Linked DNA regions of Homo sapiens: regions 2, 3, 4, 5 and 6 are each linked to region 1. Evidence: promoter capture Hi-C in human tissues and cell types (Jung and others, 2019). All regions are on one chromosome and are shown on one strand. The core of a region is centred on a gene start or on the middle of the fragment in contact, and the rest is flanking DNA. Distances in the headings are between cores, read along the strand shown.

Region 1 (4,983 bases), core at 753-3,252:
AAAAAGAGGTAAAAATGATACAGTACTGCAGGAATAGGTCGCTTTTAGGGCTCCAACGTGCCCTCCCCATCGAAGGGTCTTAATTACCTAACCTTTTGGAAATAGGAGAGAGGTCGGACCGAGATTTAAAATAAAGTCAGCATTTTAAAAATACTTTTTAAATTAAGAACCATCGTGATTAAATTGCCTGTTTGGTGCAAAATACGTTCCTCTATTTGAGGAAGTCGAGAGACCTTAAAAGGCCCTCTAAACAGATGAACTGAACGGACCGCGAGCGTCTCCTCACGCCGGGGTGATCCTGGGCCGCCGCCGCCGCCCGAGTCACGAAGCCAGACGCAGTGCGCGTCTCCGCCCAGGACTCCGGAGACTGCAGCAGCGCGAGCGGCCGCCGCGGCCCGGGCTGCTCCTGGAGTCGGGGAGGAGACGCGACTCCCGCAGACACGTGACCTCCTCCCAGCCGCCGCTTCCCGCGACCCAGATCCGTCCCCGGAACCCGTGCCCGGCGGGGCGGGCCGGGGGACACGTAGCGGGCGCCCCAGTCCCTGCTGCGCCCTGGTGCATGTACCTTTGGCGTTCTTCTCCCCTCGGTTCACTTATCACCGGCAATAATCAACGTTTCAGAGATCACCCCGGGGAGAATGTAAATATCCCTCTCTGTGCAGGAAAAACCTTGGTTTTTTTCTCTATGTCTTTATGTATATCTAGAGAAATATATATATAGCCTCCATCCCACCCCTGGGAGTCCCTCAGGACATGCCTTCCCCTGGGCTGGCAGGGCGGCGTGGGCAGTGCGCATCCCCGGGCACCTCCCGGTAACTCTCACTAGCAGTGAGTCATGCTCCCAGGGTGGCTCTGGGGAAAGGTAACCCGGCTCTTGCTGGCCTGTGATTCCCGGCGCCGAGCGCCGCGGCTGCAGGGCGAGCGCGCGCGCGCACGGGTTCCCCGAGCAGTGATGTGGCAGCAGCGGCAGGTCGGATCACGTTGCTGGCCCTGTGCTGGTACCCGTTTGAGACCGGATTAAGGAGGGAGGCTTTGGAGGTGCCAGCGGTAGTAAACGTGGGCTCTGCACACTCCGGGCGTCTCTTATCGCGCGGGGGGGCGGGGGGATGGGGAAAGCACGTAGCGTCACCGGAGGCTCAGAACGCGGCAGAGTTGAGCGGGCGGGTGATAAATGCTGCATAGCTTTTCTGTGGTAGCCCCTCTCGTGCCACCCCCTCTCGTGCCACCCCCTTCTCCCTTCCCAGCCCCCACTCAACCCCGGCTCGCTCCCCGCCGCGTTCCTCCAGGAGCACACGCGGCCCCAAACGTCGTCATCTGCTGCTGTGATTAGTGGCACCGCAATTCCGGCTGCTGCGGGGAAGTTTAGTTGGCCCAGGGACGCCGTGTCACCGAAAGACACTTGGATTGCGACATTCGGACCCAGTGACAACGTTTTCATGTATCTTAAATCCTTCAAGGAGCGGATTGCAAGTTGCTTCTTCTCGAGGCAACCTCTCCACCCAGCGCCAAGGAGTCCCTCCAGGCCACTGATCAGTGAGCAAACAAGTCTCCAAAATTTCCTTTGGGACTCAAGTTTACCCACCGCGAATTCTCTTTTCACTTCCTTTCTATGGTTCAAACCAACAGCACAATCGGTGGAAAAGCAAAAAGCCACGTTCACATTCCTGCACCGTAACAACGGACGAACCCAGGGAGTCGCATTTTGGAGCCAAGGAAGCTCAGGCTGCCCCGCACCCCTGCACCCCCACTCCCCCCTCCTCCTGCCGACTGCATCGCCTTTGGGAAGATGAATAGCTTGGCCGAAGTTGTTTTTCCTTTCCGGTGGCCCTGATCAGGTGTCCCCGCCCCCTCCTGCCGTTCGCCTTCTCTCGCCGCCTTCTCCCGACGCCCCCGCCCGGCCCGGCCCCTCCTCCCCCGCCCCCCTCCGGGCTGGACCGCGGATGGTACGTTCCGCACGTGAGCTGGGTGCTGGTCTGGCCGGCGACGCGCGTGCCCTGTGGCCAAACACTGCCTGGAGTGAGAGCAAACTACCAGCGCAGTGGGGCCGGCGCGAGTGTGCGTGTGTGTGCGTGTGTGTGTGCGAGCGCGGTGGAGGGGGGGGACCAACTGCTTCACACTTTCAACACTGCACTGAAGAGGGAGAGCGAGAGAGAGACTGGAGACGCACAGATCCCCCCAAGGTCTCCCAAGCCTACCGTCCCACAGATTATTGTACAGAGCCCCAAAAATCGAAACAGAGGAAACGAACAGCAGTTGAACATGGACGAAGGAATTCCTCATTTGCAAGAGAGACAGTTACTGGAACATAGAGATTTTATAGGGTAAGGTGCACGCACCCTTGCGAATATCTGTCTAGGCTTTGGTTTGATTTTTTTCTTCTCCAGAAAGTGGTATGGAGCTGGCGAGGGCAGAGCCCCTCCCCGAATGGGTGCCTGATGCTGATTTCTGTTTTGCAGACTGGACTATTCCTCTTTGTATATGTGTAAACCCAAAAGGAGCATGAAACGAGACGACACCAAGGTAAGTGTAAGTTCCCGATATTCCTCATAACCTGCATGGGTAGTTAATTAGAGCCATTGATTTCACAGTGAAGCTCTGCCCGCAAATATATTCCAGCCCCTGAGCTTCCCCAACTGTGAATTTTAAGTGGCTTGCTGGGTACTCTCAGGGGGATATTAAACATCATACCTGAATTTAAATTGCATTGCAGAACAGTCCAGAGGAAAGAGGTTTCTTGGGTGTAGTTTATCACATAGTATGTTTTATGGTGGGGGGGCGGGGGGGGCAGACGAGGGTAATATCCAATAAGTGAATGTTTCGCTTACTGTTTTCTCTTTTCCATGACTCTCATATATTAAGGATACCTACAAATTACCGCACAGATTAATAGAAAAGAAAAGAAGAGACCGAATTAATGAATGCATTGCTCAGCTGAAAGATTTACTGCCTGAACATCTGAAATTGACAGTAAGATGCACATTTTCATTCTTTGCTGCTCTCCAAGGGCGTGTTAATAGTCTGGTGCGACTCCCAGAAAATATAAGAATAAATGTAAATATAAGTTCCTGACTTAAAACTTGTGCTATACCGTACAGAGTTTCCCGCAAACTGGAGTAGGTGCTCCCAGCTGAAGGCAAGAAATCATTTATAACCTGTCTTGTGGAAAGCTCAAGAAGTAAAAGAACAGTACTTCTTTCAAAGTGTTTGCTTAAATTGCTGTGCTGAATGGACAGCCAATTAAGCCAAATGTGTGTTTTTAAGTAACCAAGTGCCCGTTTCTTTTTTGCACCACTGCAGACTCTGGGACATCTGGAGAAAGCTGTAGTCTTGGAATTAACTTTGAAACACTTAAAAGCTTTAACCGCCTTAACCGAGCAACAGCATCAGAAGATAATTGCTTTACAGAATGGTAAGTCAGTTCAGGGAGGCCAGCCTACCCTGATGAAGCGGGGCAGCCCACAGGGGAGCAGTGTCAGGACTCCCTCACCCGCACCCCATCTCTTTCCGTGGGCTCATGGGTTCCCTCTCATTTGTTAAATTGCTTATACTTTCCCTTCATTGGAACGAGCCCATTTCCCGAAGCATCCTAGAGGCTTTCAGCAGAACTCGGAGGAATCAGGATTTAAAGTGGCGGTTGCACCCGCTCCACTTTGGTTTTCAGCTGGGAGGAGAGCGCCCTCTCCCCGCTCCGCACCTCCGCCACCCCGCTTCTCTCGTCAACTGGTGGATTATATCACTTGAATACTGGGGAAAAACCGAGATCACTTTAGTCGATGCAGGGCCCACGTGATAAGCAGATGTTTTAACGTGGGTATGTTTCTTCTTGCCTCCACTCCTCCGTCCCCCACCCCCATCCCTTCCTCATCCTAGGGGAGCGATCTCTGAAATCGCCCATTCAGTCCGACTTGGATGCGTTCCACTCGGGATTTCAAACATGCGCCAAAGAAGTCTTGCAATACCTCTCCCGGTTTGAGAGCTGGACACCCAGGGAGCCGCGGTGTGTCCAGCTGATCAACCACTTGCACGCCGTGGCCACCCAGTTCTTGCCCACCCCGCAGCTGTTGACTCAACAGGTCCCTCTGAGCAAAGGCACCGGCGCTCCCTCGGCCGCCGGGTCCGCGGCCGCCCCCTGCCTGGAGCGCGCGGGGCAGAAGCTGGAGCCCCTCGCCTACTGCGTGCCCGTCATCCAGCGGACTCAGCCCAGCGCCGAGCTCGCCGCCGAGAACGACACGGACACCGACAGCGGCTACGGCGGCGAAGCCGAGGCCCGGCCGGACCGCGAGAAAGGCAAAGGCGCGGGGGCGAGCCGCGTCACCATCAAGCAGGAGCCTCCCGGGGAGGACTCGCCGGCGCCCAAGAGGATGAAGCTGGATTCCCGCGGCGGCGGCAGCGGCGGCGGCCCGGGGGGCGGCGCGGCGGCGGCGGCAGCCGCGCTTCTGGGGCCCGACCCTGCCGCCGCGGCCGCGCTGCTGAGACCCGACGCCGCCCTGCTCAGCTCGCTGGTGGCGTTCGGCGGAGGCGGAGGCGCGCCCTTCCCGCAGCCCGCGGCCGCCGCGGCCCCCTTCTGCCTGCCCTTCTGCTTCCTCTCGCCTTCTGCAGCTGCCGCCTACGTGCAGCCCTTCCTGGACAAGAGCGGCCTGGAGAAGTATCTGTACCCGGCGGCGGCTGCCGCCCCGTTCCCGCTGCTATACCCCGGCATCCCCGCCCCGGCGGCAGCCGCGGCAGCCGCCGCCGCCGCTGCCGCCGCCGCCGCCGCGTTCCCCTGCCTGTCCTCGGTGTTGTCGCCCCCTCCCGAGAAGGCGGGCGCCGCCGCCGCGACCCTCCTGCCGCACGAGGTGGCGCCCCTTGGGGCGCCGCACCCCCAGCACCCGCACGGCCGCACCCACCTGCCCTTCGCCGGGCCCCGCGAGCCGGGGAACCCGGAGAGCTCTGCTCAGGAAGATCCCTCGCAGCCAGGAAAGGAAGCTCCCTGAATCCTTGCGT
Region 2 (4,333 bases), core at 81-2,580, 800 kb after region 1:
AACTGGGAATGTTTCTATTACCGTTATCATCAGTAGTGGTTTTATTGTTACTCACATTATGAAAGATATTTCTTCTTATCTTGAAATAGGGCAAATGAAGTATGAGGAACAATGCTTGAAAGTAAAAATATGCTTCTCATTTTTCTGGGATAATGCTTAGAAAATGTGATGGCCATCTAAGACAAAGCTTACTTAAGTGATTTAACTATCATTTTAAGGAATTCATTTTTTAAAAATCTCATTTATGGTTCATCACTTCAGTATTTTTATGCTGAGTTGCCATATCTTATTTAATTAACTTGCTTATTGTTTTGTGACAATCGTATCCTCTTTTGGTATTCTCACTTTTTACATGAAATAGTAAATATATTTCCTAAGTTCCAGGAAAAAATGAGAACACTTTAAAGAGCTGGAAGTATACTATATCTCACGCTTGATGCCAGTAAAAACAACCCACAAGCCAATAAAGGGAAGACAAAGGAAATGCAGTGTCTGCAATGAGTCATTTAACAATATGGTAGTAAAAGGTAAAAAAGAAAGCCCTGGATTGTTTACACTCTTCTTCTGCCCCTCAAATACCCCATCGAAGCCCTTCAACTTTAGCAGATCATTATTTGCATCTACTTTTTTAAGGAAAGAGAGAGCAGGCAACATGTCCTTTACTGCCTCTACCCTGAATTTCTTCAGATGGCTAAAGAGGAAGAGACTAACCCCCTCTCCAGGGAAAACTCCTCATCTATGCCCTGTTCTCATTCTCTCCAGCCTTCTCCACGGCCTTGCCCTCCATCAGTCATCCTTCTACAAAGTGTCAATCACTCTTGATTCTTCTTGATTTCTCCTTGACCTATTAATGGAAACATGCTGGGTGTTTCCCATCCCCATTTTAATGTCCCCTCTGCTTTTCTACCTTCATTACAAAATGGTCACTTTAAATCTAGGTCTCCCACTCTACAAAAATGGTTCTCCTAAATGTCCCCAGTGGCCTCCCTAAACACAAATTCATTGGACTTTTCTCTATTCTTACCCTCTCTGATCTCGGCAGCATCTGACACTGCTGACACCTACTTCCTGTTGAATTCTCTTCCTTGAAGTCTTAGACTCCCCTCTCTGAACCTTTAACCTCACTGTACCTCACAGATTTTCCTTCACTTCTACTCATTAAATGAAATACTACAAAGAGTCTTTCTTGACCCTCTTTTTATCTTACTCTCTTTGGTGATCTTTTTTGGAAAGCTTATTTACTCAACTTTTTCAACTTTCTGCAAATGACTCCAAAATACGTGTTTCCAGTCCTGACTTCTCTCCTAATTCAGCATCTGAATTTCCAGTTGCCTGCTAAACTGCCATATCTCCAAAACAATTAAAATTTTAAATTTCAAAGCCAAATGAAGCATCTCATCTTTGAAATGTTCTCATCTAAACTAATACATTTTCAGCCTCCAAGAGCATTTGGGAGCACATTCAGCCTCTCCCTTTCTCTCATACCCTACATGAATTTAAACGGTGAAAAAAAAGATGAAACTTTGAAACCAGACTGACTTGGGTTGAATCCCTGTTGTGCCACTTTCCAGAACTGTGACCTCAGGTTAATTGCGTGATCTCCCTGAGTTTCTTCATCTGAATTAATCAGGTACCCATATTTACTCAGCCCAGGTATTGCACCAGTTAAATGAAACAATGTTCACAAAGCACCTTCTATGTGCCTGACGTATCACAGCCAGGCAAATAATTTTTATACATTTTTAGTTTTGCTTACAAATAGTCTCTTTTATTGTAACATTTTCTCTTTTGATATTACTGACATTGTCACCACCTTAGTTTTGCGTCTCATTACCACTTGCCTGATGATTGCAACTTTTCTAAAAATATTTTCTTGCTTATCTCCCAGCCTCCTGTCCATCCTCGTTACTACTGCTAGAACTCCTTCTAGAGCACTATTATCTTGCAATGCTACATGGCTTACAGAATAGATGACAAGCTCCCCATCTTAGTATTTAAGTTTCTCCACAACCTGTTCCTTGTCAACCTTTTAAAATCACGGCTGCATATGCAGTCCCCTGAGCCCAGTGCTTTAGCCAGACTGGACCCTTAATTCGACATTCTTTACTTTCCTAGCTCCTTACTTTTGATCACTCATGCTCTTTGCCAACTGGTGGTGTCTGGTTAGGCCATGTGGCCATGGGGCCAATTGTCTGCATTTATTAAAATGGTACCAAGAGGAAACCACAGGAAATAGCCTTTACTTGACATAAAAACTATGTGCCAGAAACATTTCTAAGTGCTTTGGAGATATTAACTCATTTAATCCTTATAACAACCTTATGAGTTAAGCACTATTAGGATCGTAATTCAGAAGATTAAGAAACTGAAGCATACACAAAAAGTTATGCCAGGTTTCCAAAATCATTATAAATAGCACAGCCAAGCTTCAAATACATATAGCGCAGATAGTTGAAATCGTCAAGAGTCTGTGCTTCACTTATCACTATGCTGACTTTCCTAAAAGTTTGTCCGGAGCAGCACCAACGTAAGTAGTTTTAACTGAGGTTGCCAGTCTCCGTGAAGCTAGACACCAACGATTAGGACCAAAAAGGTCAGGAATGAGATGCATTGATGTGTGAGGAAGTTCAAGGTTGACAGTTGCAAGATGAGCAGATGGGAATTTCCTGAGCCCAAGTTCAGGGGCTCATGACACCTTTAAACACAGTACCCATGACCTCTGTGATGGCCAAGTTGGGAGAGCTAAGGGATCTGACACAAGCAAGTCTGTCTGGTTAACAGTCATCTGTCTCACCCTGTCCCCATGAGGTGAGAGCTTCCTGGGAGGAGGAATTATGCATTCCTAACCTTTGTGGCCTCCTAGTATCTGACATAGCACTCTTATTTAGTCAATACACATCAGGTGCCTATGTGTGTTAGGAACGGTATGGGGTTTGGGACATTTCATGGTTTCTTCCCCCAGAGTTGCTACGGTACTTTTTCTCTGATTTGATCTGTAAATTGTATTTGTACAAGACATGTGATTGCCAAGAGCTTTCTCCACAGTCTTTGCAGAAGCAATATAAATCACCTTAAAACCACAGGGCTTTCTGGAAATGAATTAGGGCTGAGACTTAAAGAACCGACTCTGGGGAATTTTAATTAGAACTGCAAATTCATCACACAGATTCTTTGCCATTTGGTGAATCAAACCTATCCCAATAAAACTGCTGTGCTTGGCTCAATTACAAGTGCTATGCCGTCTCCTCTGTATTCCTTCTGGTATCCTGCATAGTGTCTAAATATAGTAGGTTTGCTATACATGCTAGATGAATGCATGTCTGATGATAAGAAATGCTAGTGAAACTTTCACATCTGAGCACTTCTCGTTTTTGTCTCTGAAGTTTAAAGTTGTTTTCCTCAGGGGGAAAGTTGGCTGGTACAATGGAGAAGTGTCTGGGCTATTGATCACAAGTCTCTAACTCTAGAATTTAGCAAACAACAAAAAAAGTTTGAGATAAATGTCTCTATTTTAAAAGCTTACACAAAGTAAAGTTCATTCTGTACACTATTGACCACCAACCTAGACATTCAATGTTTTCTTCCACTTGGGATAAAAAAAGAGGTTTTCACTGCATTTTCTCCTAAATCATATAATTATAGGGGTTTTGAAATTACTGGACCTAGTCTTTGCCCTTCAGGCAGAAAGTATGTTTAAAATTTTCCCTAAGTAAAAATCATTACAGTTGTGTCTTGAATTTTGTATGTAGCATTAGTTCATAAAGACATAGAGGGAATAGGTACTGGCTTGCTTTATTTGCAGTGTCATGAAGAAGTCAGATGTAGCTAAACCTTTTCTTTTGTGTAGTCCTTGAAGTGGTATAAAAAAGGAATTGATGTGGTTTCATCAGTCCTAAACCAGAATCTGTCCCCAACACTGACCTACTAAGAAAATAAGAAATAAGTCAGCTTGGTTGCTTCTTGTCCATTTATAACCTGAACACTTTTTTAACGGTTAGGGACAACTTTTGATGAAGTAAAGACAAATTTCAGTATCAGCAGAGACTATATTAACACATGCTTTATAGTAATTAAAATAAATTAATGGCAATGATACAATAAAACTCCACTGTTCTTTAAAAAAAAAATTTCCCTGAGCAGATTAGTTTGTCTTGTTTTTAAGATACGTTTAGAGATTGCACAACCACCACCAATAGCCAGTTTAGTGTTTAATAGCCCAAGTCTTCTTTCTTTCTTTCTTTCTTTTTTTTTTGAGATGGAATTTCGCTCTTGTTGCCCAAGCTGGAGTGCGATGGCGTGATCTCGGCTCACTGCAACCTCTGCCTCCTGGGTT
Region 3 (4,899 bases), core at 207-2,706, 730 kb after region 1:
TGGAAAGCTGAAAGATTTTATTACTAGTAAGAGACTTTCCAAATCTAGTATAAGGACATTGGAATAATAAAATGTAAGATTATTTTTTAAACGAACTAAGAATAGGCAGTTGATTCAAGGAAAAATAGTTGAAATGTGCATGCATGTGCAAATACATATGCATAAATAGATTAAACTTCTTGAGGGTAGAGGTTTTATTTTTGTCTCTTTATTCTTGCCAAATGCTTGGCTGCAGTAGGCATTCATGAATTTTATTTATTTATTTATTTATTTATTTATTTATTTACTGAGACAGAGTCTCCCTCTGTTGCCCAGGCTGGAGTGCGATGGTGCGATCTTGGCTTACTGCAACCTCCACCTCCTGGGTTCAAGTGATTCTCCTGCCTCAGTCTCCCAAGTAGCTGGGATTACAGGCGTGCACCACCACACCCAGCTAATTTTGTATTTTTAGTAGAGATGGGGTTTCACCATGTTGGTCAGGCTGGTCTCAAACTCCTGACCTCAGGTGATCTGCCCGCCTCGGTCTTTCAAAGTGCTGTGATTACAGGCGTGAGCCACCACGCCTGGCCTCTCATGCATTTATGTAATGTTTATTGAGTTCCTTCTATGTATCAGACATGATTCCGGTCCAGGCACTAGAGTTAAGAGTGAAAAAGTAGACTTTTGTCTTCGTGGAGCTTACATTTTACTGGGTAGAGATACAGAGTAAAGTTAAAAAAAAGGCGGTGAGGGCGGGGGCAGAAATGAAGCCATTCATTAGGTAATGGATATTGAAAAAGTTGTAGAGTCAATAAGTAGGAGTTCCAAGGGTAAATGCACTGGCGGGAGAGGAAAGGCTTGAAACAATCAATGTTTTAGAAGGTAATCTAATTATTGGTAACAGGAAGGTGAAGTCATGACTGGAAGGAGGAGGATGAAATGGAGGAAGATAAAAAGATCATTAGAAAGAAGGAGATCCGGAAACTGTGAACGTGTGATGTTGAATGGGACAGCACATGGATGTCGCAGTTGCTGAAAATGGTGACCAAAGCGGAGTGAAGAAGGAGACAGTGAGCCACGTGCTGCAATCTTCAACGAAGGACATGAAGTAATTTAAGAGATCATAGATGACAGCACATAAAACGGTAGGCTCCCATAAAGCTGGATAGAATAACTTCGTAGGAGCTGGAGTTTTTGAGGGCTGAAAAAGAAGAAATGGTTTGCAAATGGCACTTTATATAAGTTCAGGTCAAAGGAAAAAGGAAGTGAGAAGACAGCCAGCGAAGTGTGTCCTCAGGAATAACTTTCTATGAGGCCAAAAATGTGATGGAAACACCTTTTTTTACTGAATGAATGAATGTTGAATCCTCACTTAGAGTCATTTAGAATAATTTCAAACTTAATTAGCCTTTTGAATTAAGTTTAAAGTAATGCATTCCAATTTCTTTTGTTCACACACTTTCATATTTATTTTAATATACTCATAAGGATAAAAGTTGGAAGTAGAGAGATTTCTGAGTTTAAAAGTATGTGTTGCAAGGGCAACCATCATCTTTTACTTTAGACGCCTCAGTATTTTTGAGTTTATTACAAGTACATACTCCTTTGATAATAAAGGGGAAAGAAAGTATGTATCTTTACCAAAAATACCTGAAAATCAAGCCACTGAAAAATTAAAATGGGCATCCTGAACAGCTTCCCTTTTATTCCTGGACTATGGTAACTTCAGAAAAGGAAAGAAAGCAATATGTTTTTTGTTTTGTTTTGAGACAGAGTCTGGCTCTGTCACCCAGGCTGGAGTGCAGTGGCATGATCTCGGCTCACTGCAACCTCTGCCACAAGGGTTGAAGCAATTCTCCTGCCTCAGCCTCCTGAGTGGCTGGGATTACAGGCACCTGCCACCACACTCGGCTAATTTTTGTATTTTTAGTAGACCACCATGTTGGTCAGGCTGGTCTCGAACTCCTGCCTTGTGATCCGCCCACCTAGGCCTCCCAAAGTGTTGGGATTACAGGCCTGAGCCACCACGCCCGGCCAGCAATACCTTTTTTTTAGATTGTTCTGCCATCTCCATCCCGTCCACACAGGAGTTGGGGTTAGATTTTATCCTAACTACTGAGCAGTGGCCTCTTTCTCTGTGGAGCAAGAGGCTGTGAGGACTTCCCAGGTCACACCCAGGCTCTAGCGGATAAATATCCACTAGATAGCCCTTCCAAGGGTTATCTTCCAAGGGTTATCCTTCCAAGGAAAACCCTTTCATAGAAGGGTTCTGAGGAAAAAACCTAGTTTTCCCTTTTTTCCATTTTCCAAGTAATTGACTCACTTATACGTAATGTCAATGGGCTCTACTAAATCTTTGGGCAAACAATTCAATAATACTTTAGGCTAAGTAGTGCTTCCTCTTGGGTCATACCTTATATAGATTAAAATAGAGCTATTTAATAAAAATAAAATCAACAAAAATGAGCACTCACTCTGTGTAAGACACTGTGTTCAGAGCTAAACTTAGAATATCTTATTTAATCCTCTTAACACCTGTTTGAGATAGACGTTATTCTAATCTAATTTACAGTTGAGGAAACCAAGACACAGAGAGAATAAATATGCTGAGATCATGCAACTATTGTGTCCAGGAACTGAGATAGGAACCCAAGTCTGCCACACCTCAGGGCATGTGCTGTTGTGTCTGGAATTGGTGGGTTCTTGGTCTCACTGACTTCAAGAATGAAGCCGCGGACCCTCGCGGTGAGTGTTACAGCTCTTAAGGTGGCGCGTCCGGAGTTTGTTCCTTCTGATGTTCGGATGTGTTCAAAGTTTCTTCCTTCTGGTGGGTTTCTGGTCTCGCTGGCTCAGGAGTGAAGCTGCACACCTTCACGGTGAGCGTTACAGCTCATAAAGGCAGTGTGGACCCAAAGAGTGAGCAGTAGCAAGATTTATTGCAAAGAGTGAAAGAACAAAGCTTCCACAGTGTGGAAGGGGACCCGAGTGGGTTCCCACTGCTGGCTCCGGCAGCCTGCTTTTATTCTCTTATCTGGCCCCACCCACGTCCTGCTGATTGGTAGAGCCCAGTGGTCTGTTTTGACAGAGGGCTGATTGGTGCGTTTACAATCCCTGAGCTAGACACAAAGGTTCTCCACGTCCCCACCAGATTAGTTAGATACAGAGTATGGACACAAAGGTTCTCCAAGGCCCCACCAGAGTAGCTAGATACAGAGTGTCCATTGGTGCATTCACAAACCCTGAGCTAGACACAGGGTGCTGATTGGTGTGTTTACAAACCTTGAGCTAGATAGAGTGCCAATTGGTGTATTTACAATCCCTGAGCTAGACATAAAGGTTCTCCACGTCCCCACCAGACTCAGGAGCCCAGCTGGAGCCCAGCTGGCTTCACCCAGTGAATCCTGCACCAGGGCTGCAGATGGAGCTGCCTACCAGTCCTGTGGCATGCGCTCGCACTCCTCAGCCCTTGGGTGGTCAATGGGACTGGGCGCTGTGGAGCAGGGGGTGGCACTCGTCACGGAGGCTCGGGCCGCATAGGAGCCCATGGAGGGGGTGGGAGGCTCAGGCATAGTGGGCTGCAGGTCCCGAGCCCTGCCCTGCGGGAAGGCAGCTAAGGCCCTGTGAGAAATCAAGCGCAGCGCCGGCGGGCTGGCACTGCTGGGGGACCCAGTACACCCTCCGCAGCCGCTGGCTCGGGTGCTAAGCCCCTCATTGCCTGGGGCCGGCAGGGCTGGCCAGCTACTCGGAGTGCGGGGCCCCCCAAGCCCACGGCCACCCGGAACTCCAGCTGGCCCGCAAGCACCGCGCGCAGCCCCGGTTCCCGCTCGTGCCTCTCCCTCCACACCTCCCTGCAAGCTGAGGGAGTGGGCTCCTGCCTTGGCCAGCCCAGAAAGGGGCTCCCACAGTGCAGCGGCGGGCTGAAGGGCTCCTCAAGTGACGCCAAAGTGGGAGCCCAAGCAGAGGAGGCGCCGAGAGTGAGCGAGGGCTGTGAGGACTGCCAGCACGCTGTCACCTCTCACTGTGAACCATAGATTATACTGCCTCTCTGTTTCGGTGATTCAGGAGATGTTTTCATTTTTGCTGTGTCTTGGGGCTGATTGCCACCCGTACTGGATATTTATTCTTTTGTGTTTTTTTGTTTGTTTGTTTGAGACTGAGTCTCGCTTTGTCGCCCAGGCTGGAGTGCAGTGGCACCATCTTGACTCACTGCAAGCTCTGCCTCCCAGGTTCAAGCAATTCTCCTACCTCAGCCTCCTGAGTTGCTGGGACTACAGGCACCTGCCACCACACCTGGCTAATTTTTTGTATTTTTAGTGGAGACGGGGTTTCACCGTGTGAGCCAAGATGGTCTTGATCTCCTGACCTCGTGATCCACCCGCCTTGGCCTCCCAAAGTGCTGGGATTACAGGCATGAGCCACCGCGCCCGGCTGGTACTGGATATTTGGATATTTATTCTATAGGGCTTTAGGGAAATGTCTTCAGGATAAGAGAAGCTTCAAAGTCCCATAAAGATCATCTCAAAATCATTATATGGTTATAAAATAAACTATATTGCTTTAGAGTAGGGCAAGCTTGTCCAACTTGCAGCCCAGGACGACTTTGAATGTGGCCCAACACAAATTCGTAAACTTTCTTAAGACATTATGAGTTTTTTTGGCCAATTTTTTTTGAAGTTCTTCGTTAGTGTCAGTGTATTTTATGTGTGGCCCAAGATAAGTCTTCTTCTTCCAGTGTGGCCCAGGGAAGCCAAAAGACTGGACACACCTGGAGTAGAGTAAGTGCAATTAATGATGTTATTTTATACCATCTGAATCCAGAAGTGTTAAGAATACTTGTGACACTTAGCTGAGTGCAATGGCTCATGCCTGTAATCCTAGCACTTTGGGAGGCTGAGGTAGGAGGATTGCTTGAGCCCAGAA
Region 4 (4,365 bases), core at 1,632-4,131, 720 kb before region 1:
CAATATTTATTTTCTTCTCCATGCTTATTATTATTACTATGATAAACATAATTGTGAATAAAGCACTTTTCATACATAGGATTATTTCTTTAGGTTATATTCCATATGTCCACATTGCCATTAAAATGGTTGTACAAAATATGATATTGGCTGTTTGACTAACAGCATTGGTTACAATAACTAAAAACTTTTATTTTGCTAATCTAATGCATGAGAAATGATATCTCACTATTATATTACTTTTATTTTTTTGCCTATAACCAACCTTTTGCCTATAATATTTGTTGCAAACTATTCCCACTTTGTTGTTTTACTTTCAGTTGAGTTTTTTGTTACATTTTAAAAATAGAAGAAAAAATACATATATAATTTACCATCTTTACCATTTTAAGTATGCAGTTCAGTGGTAGTAAACACATTTATATCGCTTTTTGTTCCCTTCACTCACCCTTTCCCCTTCCCTTACTGGTGTTAGAATTTTTACATAAAAATTTAAAGTTGTAAGAATTAAACTTACTTCATAATTTGCTTTATGTTTTTATATTAATGCATATGTATTTCTAAGCATAGGTATCCCCTGTTCTTAAGATGGTAAATATTCAATTCCCTTTATTTTGGTGAATTTTGAATTCAGATGAATACATTAAGTCATTAAATATAAAATTAATTAATTTATTTTTGAGACAAGGTCTCACTGTGTCACCCAGGCTGGAGTGCAGTGGCACCATCATGTCTCACTGAAGCCTCAAACTCCTGAGCTAAAGAGATCTTCCTGTCTCAGCCTCTGAGTAACTGGGACTATGGATGTAGTTTTTAAAATTTTTTAAATTAAATTTTTTTTTTTTTAAGATGGGGTCTGGCTATGTTGCCTAGACTGGTCTCAAACTCCTGACCTCAAGTGATCCTTCCACCTTGGCCTCCCAAAGTGCTGGGGTTACAGGCGTGAGTCACTGCACCTGGCCCTGGATTTATTTTTAAGATACGTGATAGCTTAAAACTGCTAAACTAGTATTCTCCATGTAAGTAAATAACATCATTTCTTGTATAATCTCATGCTTTCCCATTGATTTCTTATACTTTCTTTTTTATATATTGAGTTCTTACAAATAATCAGGACTGTAGACTGTGGTACTGTGCCTATAGGTACAAAAAACAGGTACAAAACAGCTTCCTTCACATCTAGGTGTTCACTCTGAAACAAAAAGTACAACTCAGAGTTCTTGCCTTAAACAAATTGATGCTAATTAGTTGGGTAATCAGGATGTATACATCCGAAATAATGCACTAAAGTAGACCCACATTACTGCATTTCAAACTAGATTCATAAATGAGAGAAAACAAAGGTAAACTTGGGGGAATCACAGGGGTGAGAAAAAGGACTCCAGGAAGTTTTCCCTGGATTTATTCTCCCTGGTTTTGCCCAACCAAAGTATTATGTCTTCCCAAAAATCAGGAACCACAAGCATGGCAGCATTCTCTGGTGTTAGATGGCAGTTTTCTCTGTGGGTTTTATCCGCTACCTTCTTTGAAGAGATAAAAAGCTGTCAGCTTGTGGAAAGCAGAGTTCTCATGTGACAATTGTGGGTGGTTTTATAGCACCAGGCTGGAAATTTAGCCATTTTGTTTCTTTTGTCTCAAAATTTGCTTTTCCCTGATGTCTGAAACGTGTCTGTTAAAAAAATTGATTTCTTTCTCTTACACATATTTTTTAAAAAATTCAAATTCCTTGAAAAAGAAAAATTTAATAATTATCAAGAATTTTGCCCTGGCTCAGTGTGGCTCATGCTTGTAATCCCAGAACTTTGGGAGGCAGAGGCGGGTAGATCACTTGAGGCCAGGAGTGCAAGACCAGCCTGACCAACATGCAATACCTGGTCTCTACTAAAAATACAAAAAATAGCTGGGTATGGTGGTGGGGGCCTGTAATCCCAGCTATTCCAGAGGCTGAGGCAGGAGAATCACTTTAACCTGGGAGGCGGAGGTTGCAGTGAGCTGAGATGGCACCACTACCCTCCAGCCTAGGCGACAGAGCAAGACTCATCTTAAAACAAAAAACAAAAAACAAAAACAAAAAACAACAAAAAAAGAATTCGCTACAGTTGATGGAAGGGATTGATCTGTAAATGGCAGAGCTGGTGGCCCAGAGGCTCTGGAGACAGCTCTGGTGTGGGCTCAGTCACTGGCATGTCTTATTGCATAGACAGAAACACCTCTGATGCTTGGTTTTCTTATGACATTTCATGCTGCTTTTCTCACAGATAATCATAATCATAATAATAGCTAATATTTATTGAAGTTGGATGTGGTGGTTTATGCCTTGTAGTCCTAGCTCCTTGAGAGGCTGAAGCCAAAGGATTGCTTGACCCTGGAATTCTGGGATGCAGTGAGCTATGACTGCACCACTGCACTTCAGCCTGGATGACAGAGTGAGATCCTCTCTCTAAAAAACAGCAAAACAAAACAAAAAACATGAAAGGTTATTAAGCACTTTATGCCAGGCACCACATCAAGCCCCTTAAATGTAACTTCTAATTTAAACCTCACAAAGACCACATGAGATAGATACCATTATTGTCCTCATTTTACAGATAAGTAAAACGAGGCCCCAGAGGTTATGTATTTGCATAAAGCCTGGTAGAGAGTAAATTGTGAATTAGTAACTCATCCCAGGTCTATGCAATACTTGTGTCCTTAACTATTGTGGCATACAGGTATGGGATTCATTTAAGTGCCTGATAAATGCTTTCTGACATCTACATGGGAACATTAAATTGTATTTGGGGAAGAATCACTGCAAATTGAAGTAGGCAAGATTTTAGATATGCATACTTTTTTTTGAGACAGGGTCTTACTCTGCCGTCCAGTCTGGAGCACAGAGGCGTGATTTTGGCTCACTGCAATCTCTGTCTCCCGGGTTCACGCCTCAGCCTCCTGAGTAGCTGGGACTATAGGCATGCACCACCACGCCTGGCTAATTTTTGTATTTTTGGTGGAGATGGGGTTTCGCCATGCAGCCCAGGTTGGTCTCCTGGGCTCAAGCAATCCGCCTACTTTGGCCTCCCAGAGAACTGGAATTACAGGTGTGAACCACAGTGACTGGCTCATTTTTTTCTTAAAACTCCCCATTCTTTTCTGTTATAGAGACTGGGCCATTTTCTCTTTTCTTCAATATTTTGATGATTCTCAGCTCTAATTGATCATGGTTCTTAGAACCAAATGGTATCAGTTGTATCAGTTCTTCATAAAATACTTCTAATTACAACACCTCTCCTCTTTTTCATTTCCAAGCCCTTACAGAATTATGACATTAGGGTCAGATCAAGCCATAAGCGATTCAGCAGCAAGTAGTGTAAATACTTCTAAGAACTGTGACCCTCAAATAATATATATATATAATATTCACCATATGATTATGGTGAATATATATAATATTCAGAAGAATATTTTAATGGGATGTGAAGTTGGGAGTTTCAGTGGAGGCATCGAAATACCATCAGTAAGACCAAGATGCAAATTTTGAAAGGAAATATTTGACCACAAGGGATACAATGCTTAAAAATCTTTCTCCCAGACCAAGGATATGAAACAGTTGGGCTGTTGGAGATGTGAGTGTTTTGGAATGAGCTACTGCTCTGTTGCGTCTCACGCCGTACATACCCAGTGCAGGAGAGAAGAACGTGTGCATGCATGTGTGTGTGCGTGTGTGTGTGTGTCAGTCATGGGGAGGGAAGTCTTTGACTCTCAGATCTAATCTAGTGAGAAGAACTTCAAAGGCACCACATGGAAAGCTTATATTTGTCTCCTGCAGGTAGGGAAACACAGTAGATTGATGTCAAACTCTGGCTTTGGAAACAGAGAGGTTAAGGGTCAAAAGATGTGATAGACAATATTTTTGAGATGAATGTCAGACTTTTTGTTGCCTGGAGATTGGCCTGCATTTCCAGAGTTTTCCCAGGCTAAGATTGTTTCTTCTGGGCCACATCTTCAAAACAGATCTGGTTTGGGATTATTCTTAAATTCCTGTCCACTAGACAACACTCTGAGAGTGATCAAAACTGACACTGTCAACAAAGAGCAGATATAGCTATACATCGTGTGCCTAAGGTTAGGGTGCCCTGGGAAGAACACAAAATCACTTTTGTAGTATTCTGGCTAGAAATGCTTCATCAAATCTAAGTGTGAAATACAAGACAAATCCAATTATGGAACAGCCTATAAGTAAATGACTTGTATTCTTTTTTCTGTTTTTTTTTTCTGTTTTTTTTTTTTTTTTTTGAGACAGAGTCTTGCACTGTCATCCAGGCTGAGTGCAGTGGCGCGATCTCAGCTCACTGCAACCTCCACCTCCTGGGTTCAAGCAATTCT
Region 5 (4,318 bases), core at 1,594-4,093, 770 kb before region 1:
GCAGTGAGCCAAGATCACACCATTGCACTCCAGCCTGGGCAACAAGAGCGAAACTCCGTCTCAAAAATAAAATAAAGACTGCAACAGATGAATGATTTAGGAATAATAATAACTGGACAGAGTAATGGCTTGAAGCTCCTTCCAGGTTTGTGAGTCTTTGATCAATCTATTGTAAACACAATACACATTAAATAATGTGTATAAGGCATAAGATGGGTACTGTATTTTGTTATTGACTTTTCTTTTTTTTTTTTTTGAGATGGAGTTTCGCACTTGTTGCCCAGGTTAGAGTGCAATGGCGCGATCTCAGCTCACTGCAACCTCTGCCTCCCGGGTTCAAGCGATTCTCTTGCCTGATCCTCCGGAGTAGCTGGGATTACAGGCACCTGCCACCACGCCTGGCTAATTTTTTGTACTTTTAGTAGAGACGGGGTTTCACCATGTTGGCCGGGCTGGTCTCAAACTCCTGACCTCAGGTGATCCTCCTGCCTTGGCCTCCCAGAGTGCTGGGATTACAGGTATGAAACACCACACCCGGCCTGTTGTTGACTTTTCTTACATGATATATTCTTAAAGTTTTTTCTTCCTAAAAACAACTCTATTCCTTGAAAAAGTTGGAAAATATAGACAAATGTAGAGAAGAAAATCAAGCACATGTAATTTCATCACACGGTTACCACTAGGTTACTCTGTTTTAATTATTTAGTTGGTTGCTGCTTGTTAGTATAAATATTCTCTGAAAAATATGGCAAAGAGAAAGCTCAACAACTCCCACAATCTTACCTTGTACCTTATTAAAGTCAGAGATAGTCCTGTATCTTGCTGTTAATACGTTTTTGGAGGTATGTGGGTAACTTATAAACATGTCAGTAGAATCCAAGTTAAGTACTGTATTGCCTGGCAAAATCTGGCTAGTTCTTGAGAATCCACTGAAAGCTAAATGTTCTGTGCCTCAGAACCAGTCACTAAGAATATGCATCATAGTTTTTGAGCCCATATTTTCAGGTAACTCAAATGCATTTGAAAATTTAGACACCTCAGAAAGGGACAGTTCAGATAAGTCATGTAATTGAGTAAATGATGGGGTCTCCTTAGAATATGACTGAGTTTTGATAATCACATCACCATCACACAATGAGCCTTCATCTACGAGTTTGCTGATGAAACAATCAGTTTCCATGGGCAAAAGAGTTGAGTCAGATGTACTATTCCATACAAATTTTGTATTTATGCTCATGCCAGGAGCTGAAATTATTTCTGTAGGAATGATGAATGAATGAATCTGTTGAGAAACTTCAGGAGTGTCAGATGTGTGATTATGCTCATGAAGGTGCTGTTGACTTAGCTGATTTGACAGGAGTACTTGACTGAACTCAAGGGGAAAATGGGAGGCTGCCAGTGTCTCCCTTGCTGATGCTGTAGGTGTCAAGAGACTGTCAGGTGAATGTACAGATTTTTCCCAGTCGACTGGAACAGAGCCACTCCATTTGCTGAGAAATGTTGTCATTGAAGACAGTACTTCTGAAGGCATGGCTATATCCTGCATTACTGAGGGCTTAAGAAAATGAGAGTACTTGGATAATGAAAGGAGAGCTTGTGAATACCCGGCTTGACTAATTGATTCTGAGACAAGGTCGGGTAAAATAGTGTGCTTTTGTATTTCTGTCCCGTGGATTAGGGTGTGTCCTTTTAGTTCCCACTCTGGAGAGTCTAGATTTTCTACTGACATTGACACTGTAGAAGTTCTACCCTGAAGGAAGTCAAAATCTGTGAATGCAGTAGCCATTAGTACCATCGAAGGAGTGACTTCAGCAAAAGCAGCAGAATATTCAAGGTTTGTAGTCAAGGACATTTCCTGTAGCGAATTCTGTGACACTGCTGTATGCTGTGGCCTTTTAGTCTTTGTGCACTTTTGGAATAAACTCCTTGCAGTATTTGGAATAAAGTTGGGATCAGGGATAGGAGTGATCTGTCTCAAGGCAGCACATAAGCTGGGAATTGGCGATGCCTCATCTTTGGGCATCCAGTGAGTCACTGAGGTGGGTAACAAAACAGAGAAAGGTTTGCTTAGCTTTGTAATGAGTTCAGTTGGCCCCATCGTTGAAGTGGGGATTGAGCTTAACTGCCTGGGTCTTCTTGTTTGAGATTTTTGAAGTAATCTCCAACCTTCAATTGTATATCCTAAAACTTGGGCAAGATACTTAGAGGAAGCTTGCTGTTGAAACACTTGCATTAGCTCTGGCAGTACTGTGGAAACCTTATATCCCATAGGCCAGTGGAATTGTACAAGGTCACCTTGTAAAGTGATGACATGCCTAGGATCTTCAGCCATCACTGGAAGATTCCACAGATGCTTGTTTATCTTGCTTCTGAATGGGCTCATCGTCACTGAAGAAGGATCTAAGTGGAAATAGTCGGCCAGCGTGTATACCAAAAAGAGACGCTCTTGGACACCAAGAGCTTCAGCAGCTGCTTTAAGAGTAATTTCAGCTATAATGGCAGAAAATTCCTTTGAACCTCCTTCGGCCCTAATGCTGAAGATTTAAAACAAAAACACAGCATGGATTACTGCTTGACTAGCAATCCCTTATTTTTATGTATTCCTTCAGAGTTTATGTGGTATTCTCACATACATCCTCTCATTGCTACATCCAACAACTAGGAGGGAAGAGAGGGCAACTATTATTTTTCTTAGTTTATAGTTGAAGAAGCTAAGTTTCAAAGTAGCTAAGTACCCAAAGACGTAGAGTAAGCACCTGATCTAAATCCAGTTATTCTAACTTCAGATGGGAAAGTAGGGGATTTCAATGGAACAGCTGTGGGTTTTGGAGTTTAAAAGTTTAAACTCCAATTTGTCGGTTAGACTGGCTACATTATTTTGAGGTATTTAACTGATCTGAGTCTCGGTTTCTTCAAATAAAAAAGAGGAATAGCACTTAACTTGCAGGGATGTTCTGAATCTTAATTGAGGTAAGACACTTTGCGAGTGAGCTGGCACACTGATGAGCCTTTCACTACCCTGGGCCTTTACTGTTCCTTTCTTTCCCTTCTCTTTCCCTCCCTCTGGCCTTCTCTATCCTTCCTTTCCTCATGTTCCTCCCTCTGTCCTTCCCTTCATTATTCCTTTTGTCCTTTCCTTCTCCATATCCCATATCCTTCCCTTCCTTTCAATTTTCTTTATCTCTCCCTCTGCTTTGCTTGTTATATTTCCTTTTTTTTTTTTTTTTTCCAGAGTCTGGCTCTGTCTCAAGGCTGGAGTGCAATAAGTGGTGCGATCTCGGCTCACTGCAATCTCCACCTCCCAGGTTCAAGCGATTCTCCTGCCTCAGCCTCTGGAGTAGCTGGGACTACAGGCACGCATCACAACGCCCAGCTAATTTTTGTAATTTTAGTAGAGATGGGGTTTCACCATATTGGTCAGGCTGGTCTTGAACTCCTGACCTCAGGTGATCCACCCACCTTGGCCTCCCAAAGTGCTGGGATTACAGGCACGAGCCACTGCTTTGTTACATTTCTTTATCTCTCATCTTTTTTGCAGCTAGACCAACAGCGGGTCCCCTCTCAGATACAAGTACTGGTCAGTGGCCCCTGCAGTTATTGAATGTGCTCTTTTCAGTAACAGCCCATGGTGAGGCTGCAGTTCAGAGCTGGCGTTGGAAGCCAGCGGCTCTAGAAGAGTGTGGTTTGCTGAATGGAAACCAAAGTAGTAATTCTCACAGGACCAGAAAGGCTCTGAGGGTGGGACAGCCCGGTTGAAATGAGCAGTCATTTCAACCTATAATGCATTTCTGGCTAGCTAACTTTTTCAACTTTAGAAATCCATTATGGGCTGGGTGCAGTGGCTCACACCTGTAATCCCAGCACTTTGGGAGGCCAAGGCGGGTGGGTCGCTTGAGGTCAGGAGTTCAAGGCAAGCCTGACCAACATGGTGAAACCCTGTCTCTACTAAAAATACAAACAAATTAGCCGGGCATGGTGGCAGGCGCCTGTAATCCCAGCTACTTGGGAGGCTGAGGCAGGAGAATCACTTGAACCTGGGAGGTGGAGGTAGCAGTGAGCCGAGATCACGCTACTGCACTCCAGCCTGGGTGACAAAGCTAGGCTCCCTCTCAAAAAAAAAAGAAAGAAATCTATTATGGACATTACTTCATCCAGTTTTTGCCAACATCCTCCATCCAAATTAAAACAACTAAATTAGTTAAAGCTACTAATTTAGTCTCTATATGTTATATATGGTTCTGTTATTGCAGTCATACTTTTAAATATTTTTCATATTTTTTAAAATTTTTATTTATAAAATAAATTTATTAAAAATATT
Region 6 (4,349 bases), core at 477-2,976, 740 kb before region 1:
GCATAAATTATCTTCTTTTGAAAAGTGTCTGTTCACATCCTTCACCCACTTTTTGATGGGGTTGTTTTTTTTTTTCTTGTAAATTTGTTTAAGTTCTTTGTAGATTCCGGATATTAGCAGGCTGTAATTCTTTACAAGAAATAGTCTCCTTTCTAAATTATAAATTACATGTTTTTTTAAGTTAACAAAACACATGTGTGTCTTAAAATTTTTCCCACCGGTGACAGAGATCCTAGTGATAGAGAAAAAGGCTTTATTCATCTGTTTAAAAGGTCCCTGTAAATAGTAGGCCCTAAACAGAAATTACTCATGATAGACACAGGTGACATTGGTAGGGCTTGGCCAGTTCAGTCAGTTGATAACTAAGATGGTCAAGTTTATGAAACAGAAAGATCACAAACTAGCAAGTGTTGGAAAACTGCTGGTAAGACGGGGAGAATAATTTTGTTTCAAGTTAAGAAAAACTGACACTTGTGGTTTCCGTGTGAGAGGAGTCAGTACTCAGTTTGAGCAACTTCTGCAAAAAAAAAAAAAAAGGTACCCTCCTGGGTTGAATCCAATTGAGGCAAGCCAACTGATAAAAAATACAAGCATTGTGTGGAAAGGAGATACTAAAAAACACTCTTTTGTGAAAAAGATACAAACTTCAATCAAGATAAATAAAACCATTGGAATAAGCTCTTCTTATATTAAAGAAGTAAAGTCTTAAGATAGTCTTTTATGGTTTATTATTTTATTTCTAATTAAGTTTTATTGTAATAAAACTTTATTTCTAAATAAAATCTTAATTAGAAATTAATGCTTAGCAAGCTTACTAAAGTACACTTTTTTTCCTCCTTTTTGAGACAGGGTCTTGCTCAGTTTCCCAAGCTGGAGTGCAATGGTATGAACATAGCTCACTGCAGCCTCAACCTCCCAGGCTCAAACAATCCTCCCACTCCGGCCTCCTGAGTAGCTGGGACCATAGGCGTGTGCCACCCCACCTGGCTAATTAAAATTTTTTTTTTTTTTTATATAGAGACAGGAGCCTCACTAAGTTGCCCAGGCTGGTTTCAAACTCCTGGGCTCAAGCAGTCCTACCACCTCAGCCTACCAAAGTGTTGGAATTACAGATATCAGCCACCACACCCAGCTAAAGTACACCTTTAATGTTAGGCAGACAACAGTTTCTATGAAGAAAAAGGGTGAGAGAGCTGCATGTGGTGGCTCATGCCTGTAATCCCAGCTACTGGGGAGGCTGAAGTGGGAGGGTTGCTGGAGTCCAGGAATTTGAGGTTGCAGTGAGCTATGATAGTGCCACTGCACTCCAGCCTGGGCAACAGAGTGAGACCTTGTCTTTAAAAAAATAAAAAGAAAAAGGGTGAACTTGGGAAGGAGAGTAGGATAGAGGAGATAGAAAAAAGAGATTAAAAGTATGCATTGTCTCTACTCTCTTACCTTGGGAGGTAAGGAAAAAAAACATGTCTGTTGGGGTCTGACAATACATTATCACCATTTACATTTTAGTTGTCCCTGAGTTCTGGTGGAAAGGCAAAGTTATCCTTAATGGGGGGATTACTTCTAAATTGCAGGCTGTAATTTTACAACAGTTCTCCCCTGTAGACTCATGTGCCTGCCAGAAAAGTAGGGCTTCCGTGAGGTATTCACCCAATTGCCCTTCTCTGGAATCTGGGGCCCACCTTTGGGAACTACATGTCTCCTGGCATCAATTCATCCTCAACAGGTAGCTACCCTCCCACCCCTGCAGCCCACACTCTTTCCTGTACTTTTCTTGATCTAATTGCCTGGACCCTCCCTGCCCTAGATAACTGGTGTCTCTTAGAGTGTCTCCAAATGTAAGAAACACACCTAGGCAGACAATTTTAAAGTAAGGGAGGTTTAGATTAGATTTTTAAAAAACAAGTATTTTTTAAAATTAATATTTGAATTTTTTGATTTAATATTAATTTCTCCTTGATCTCTGCAAATCATGAAATGCATGAAGGTAACTTCAACCAAGCCAGTGTGATGAGAAACTGACATCTTTACCAGAGAAGAAAATGTTGAAAGTAGTTTCAGGGCTGTCATATACCGAGTCATATCTTTTTAACAAAAATATTGTAATTATATTGTGAGAGTCATTGTATTTTATCTCATTTCATAATCTTATTGCTCTTACTCTCCCTCTCATCTCCAAAATCTCTCAAAAAATAACAAGTACTTTCATTGAATCATTACTATATGCCAGAAGCAATGTAACTTCTTCACATGCATTGACTCATTAAATAATCATAAAAATCCTATGAGATAATAACCCTTTTCTTTCCAATTTATGGATGATAGAGGCTGGGTGTGGTGGCTCACACCTGTAATCCCAGCACTTTGGGAGTCCGAGGTGGGAGGATCACTTGAGCTCAGGAGTTTGAGACCAGCCTGGGCAAAATAGTGAGACCCTGTCTCTACAAAAAAAAATGTTTTAAAAATTAGCCAGACGTGGTGGTGCACACCTATAGTCCCAGCTACCCAGGAGGCTGAGGTGGGAGGGTCATTTGAACCCAGGAGTTTGAGGCTGCAGTGAGCTGTGATTGCCCTGCTGCACTCCAGCCTAGGTGACAGAGTAAGACTCTGTCAAAAAAAAAAAAAAAAATATATATATATATATATATATATATATATTTATATATATGTGTGGTATAGTTATATATTATATATAAATATATATAGAGAGAGATGATGGAAATAAGGCTCAGAGATGTTAACATTCCCAATAATAGACAAACTAGTAAGAGGAGAACAGGGATTAGATCCCAGAGGGTTATGCTGCTGGGCCCAAACACCCAACCACTAACTTCAACTGTCTCTGCAGATTTTTGATGAGTTACACTGCAGAAATGGTCAGCCTACTTCTCATCTTTGTTCTGATTCATGCTGCTTATAAACATGGCTGGCAACCTAAGGCTTCATACACATGTCCTCTTCACTCCTGCCCTGTGTCCTAATTTCCTGTCATCTGTGTTCCTTATGTTCTCCTTGAGGTCCTCTCATGTGATGCCATAGTACTCTGAGCACTATGTCCAGGGAAGCTTACTTCTCAGCTGGTTGGTGGATGCACTGCTGATCATCCTCCCTGTCTAGATATCTGAATCTTTAGGAAATCTCATGTCAACCAGAGATAGAGGAAAATGGGAAGACTGGGTCTCCTGGATCTGATTATTCCCTGTAGATACTGGAAAAGGGACTAGCCTTCTAAGAAGAGCCACTTTGGATTTCTTATGAAGCTGTGGCCCTCAAAATTCTTGAACACTACCGTAAGAAATAGATTTCTGTTGCAACTTACAACACATATATTTACATACAGAGAATTGAAAATAACATGTCATAAAACAACACTTACTTACTATGTAGAATGTGCTCTGAAAGTTTCTATTCTGTTCTATTCTTTCTTTAAAAAAAATACTGGTCGAAATCCAGTAAATTGACTTCACAATTCACTGATGAGTCATGATTGGCAGCTTAAAAACACCATCATAGGCCAGGTGCGGTGGTTCATGCCTGTAATCCCAGTACTTTGGGAGGCCAAGGCAGGAGGATCACCTGAGGTCAGGAGTTCGAGACCAGCCTGGCCAACATGGTGAAACCCCATCTCTACAAAAAATACAAAAATTAGCCAGGTGTAGTGGCACATGCCTGTAATCCCAGCTACTCGGGAGGCTGAGGCAGCAGAATCACTTGAACCTGGGTGGGGAAGGTTGCAGTGAGCCAAGACTGTGCCACTGCACTCCAGCCTAGGCAACAGAGTGAGACTCTGTCTCAAACAAACCAAAAAAAAAAAAAAAAAAGAAACCCAAAAAACACAGCCATAAATAATTATTTCTAACTCAACGTATGATGGTTTTTCATGAATAATAGATTTAGCGCAAAATATGAATTCATTTATTACATTTGAAAAGCTTTTTCAAATGATTAGTGCTTTCCTCTGTTCCATGTACTTGCTAGAGATCAGCATGGCCATCAGGGGGAGCAGCACGTGGGAAAGATGTTAATTAAGATTAGACATAAAGGCTGAGGTTGTGTTCTTATGTGAACACGTGATTATGACCTTTACTTACATGTCAGCTAAGGTTACCCCTACAGTACTGCTATAATCCTTTAAAACATGAAGATTTGGTTCCTTACATCTTGGGGTCAATAGGAACAATTTGCATATGGTCTGGGTTTTGGAGAATTGGTGTTTATTGGGTTAGGTATTATAATAGTATTGTGGTTATGGGTGATATTTAATGATGTCTGTAATTTAACTTAAAGATGAGGACAGGCAGGTAGAGAAGCAGCACAATAGCTTAGCAAGTGGTGGCTGCTGCAGATGCCGT

What was found. The method cuts DNA at HindIII sites, captures the fragments that hold promoters and counts their contacts. A contact is called where the count stands out against the background at its distance.
Region 2: a contact is called between a fragment that was not itself captured here and the fragment with the promoter of BHLHE41 in region 1, in 2 of the 25 tissues and cell types used here (heart left ventricle and thymus).
Region 3: a fragment that was not itself captured here is called in contact with the fragment with the promoter of BHLHE41 in region 1 in 1 of the 25 tissues and cell types used here (mesenchymal stem cells).
Region 4: a contact is called between a fragment that was not itself captured here and the fragment with the promoter of BHLHE41 in region 1, in 1 of the 25 tissues and cell types used here (lymphoblastoid cells).
Region 5: a contact is called between a fragment that was not itself captured here and the fragment with the promoter of BHLHE41 in region 1, in 1 of the 25 tissues and cell types used here (lymphoblastoid cells).
Region 6: a contact is called between a fragment that was not itself captured here and the fragment with the promoter of BHLHE41 in region 1, in 1 of the 25 tissues and cell types used here (mesenchymal stem cells).

Annotation. Positions count from the first base shown.
Region 1 is chr12:26,122,056-26,127,038 of GRCh38, reverse strand. It overlaps BHLHE41 (basic helix-loop-helix family member e41), which reads left to right and starts at 2,002. Exons shown (of 5, transcript NM_030762.3): 1 at 2,002-2,321; 2 at 2,457-2,520; 3 at 2,860-2,967; 4 at 3,298-3,409; 5 at 3,871-4,983. The coding sequence starts at 2,260. The coding sequence ends at 4,973. It also overlaps a transcript of SSPN not described here. RefSeq lists a silencer at 421-590. The HindIII fragment of the contact is 3,249 bases long and covers 1,517-4,765 here.
Region 2 is chr12:25,319,274-25,323,606 of GRCh38, reverse strand. No RefSeq gene overlaps it. Among named protein-coding and RNA genes, the nearest start is that of KRAS, 71 kb to the right of the region's middle. The HindIII fragment of the contact is 3,284 bases long and covers 1-2,972 here.
Region 3 is chr12:25,390,344-25,395,242 of GRCh38, reverse strand. No RefSeq gene overlaps it. Among named protein-coding and RNA genes, the nearest start is that of KRAS, 140 kb to the right of the region's middle. The HindIII fragment of the contact is 4,501 bases long and covers 1-3,706 here.
Region 4 is chr12:26,840,676-26,845,040 of GRCh38, reverse strand. No RefSeq gene overlaps it. Among named protein-coding and RNA genes, the nearest start is that of ITPR2, 9.7 kb to the right of the region's middle. The HindIII fragment of the contact is 3,235 bases long and covers 1,264-4,365 here.
Region 5 is chr12:26,888,964-26,893,281 of GRCh38, reverse strand. No RefSeq gene overlaps it. Among named protein-coding and RNA genes, the nearest start is that of INTS13, 47 kb to the left of the region's middle. The HindIII fragment of the contact is 6,896 bases long and covers 1-4,318 here.
Region 6 is chr12:26,863,360-26,867,708 of GRCh38, reverse strand. No RefSeq gene overlaps it. Among named protein-coding and RNA genes, the nearest start is that of ITPR2, 32 kb to the right of the region's middle. The HindIII fragment of the contact is 3,541 bases long and covers 1-3,496 here.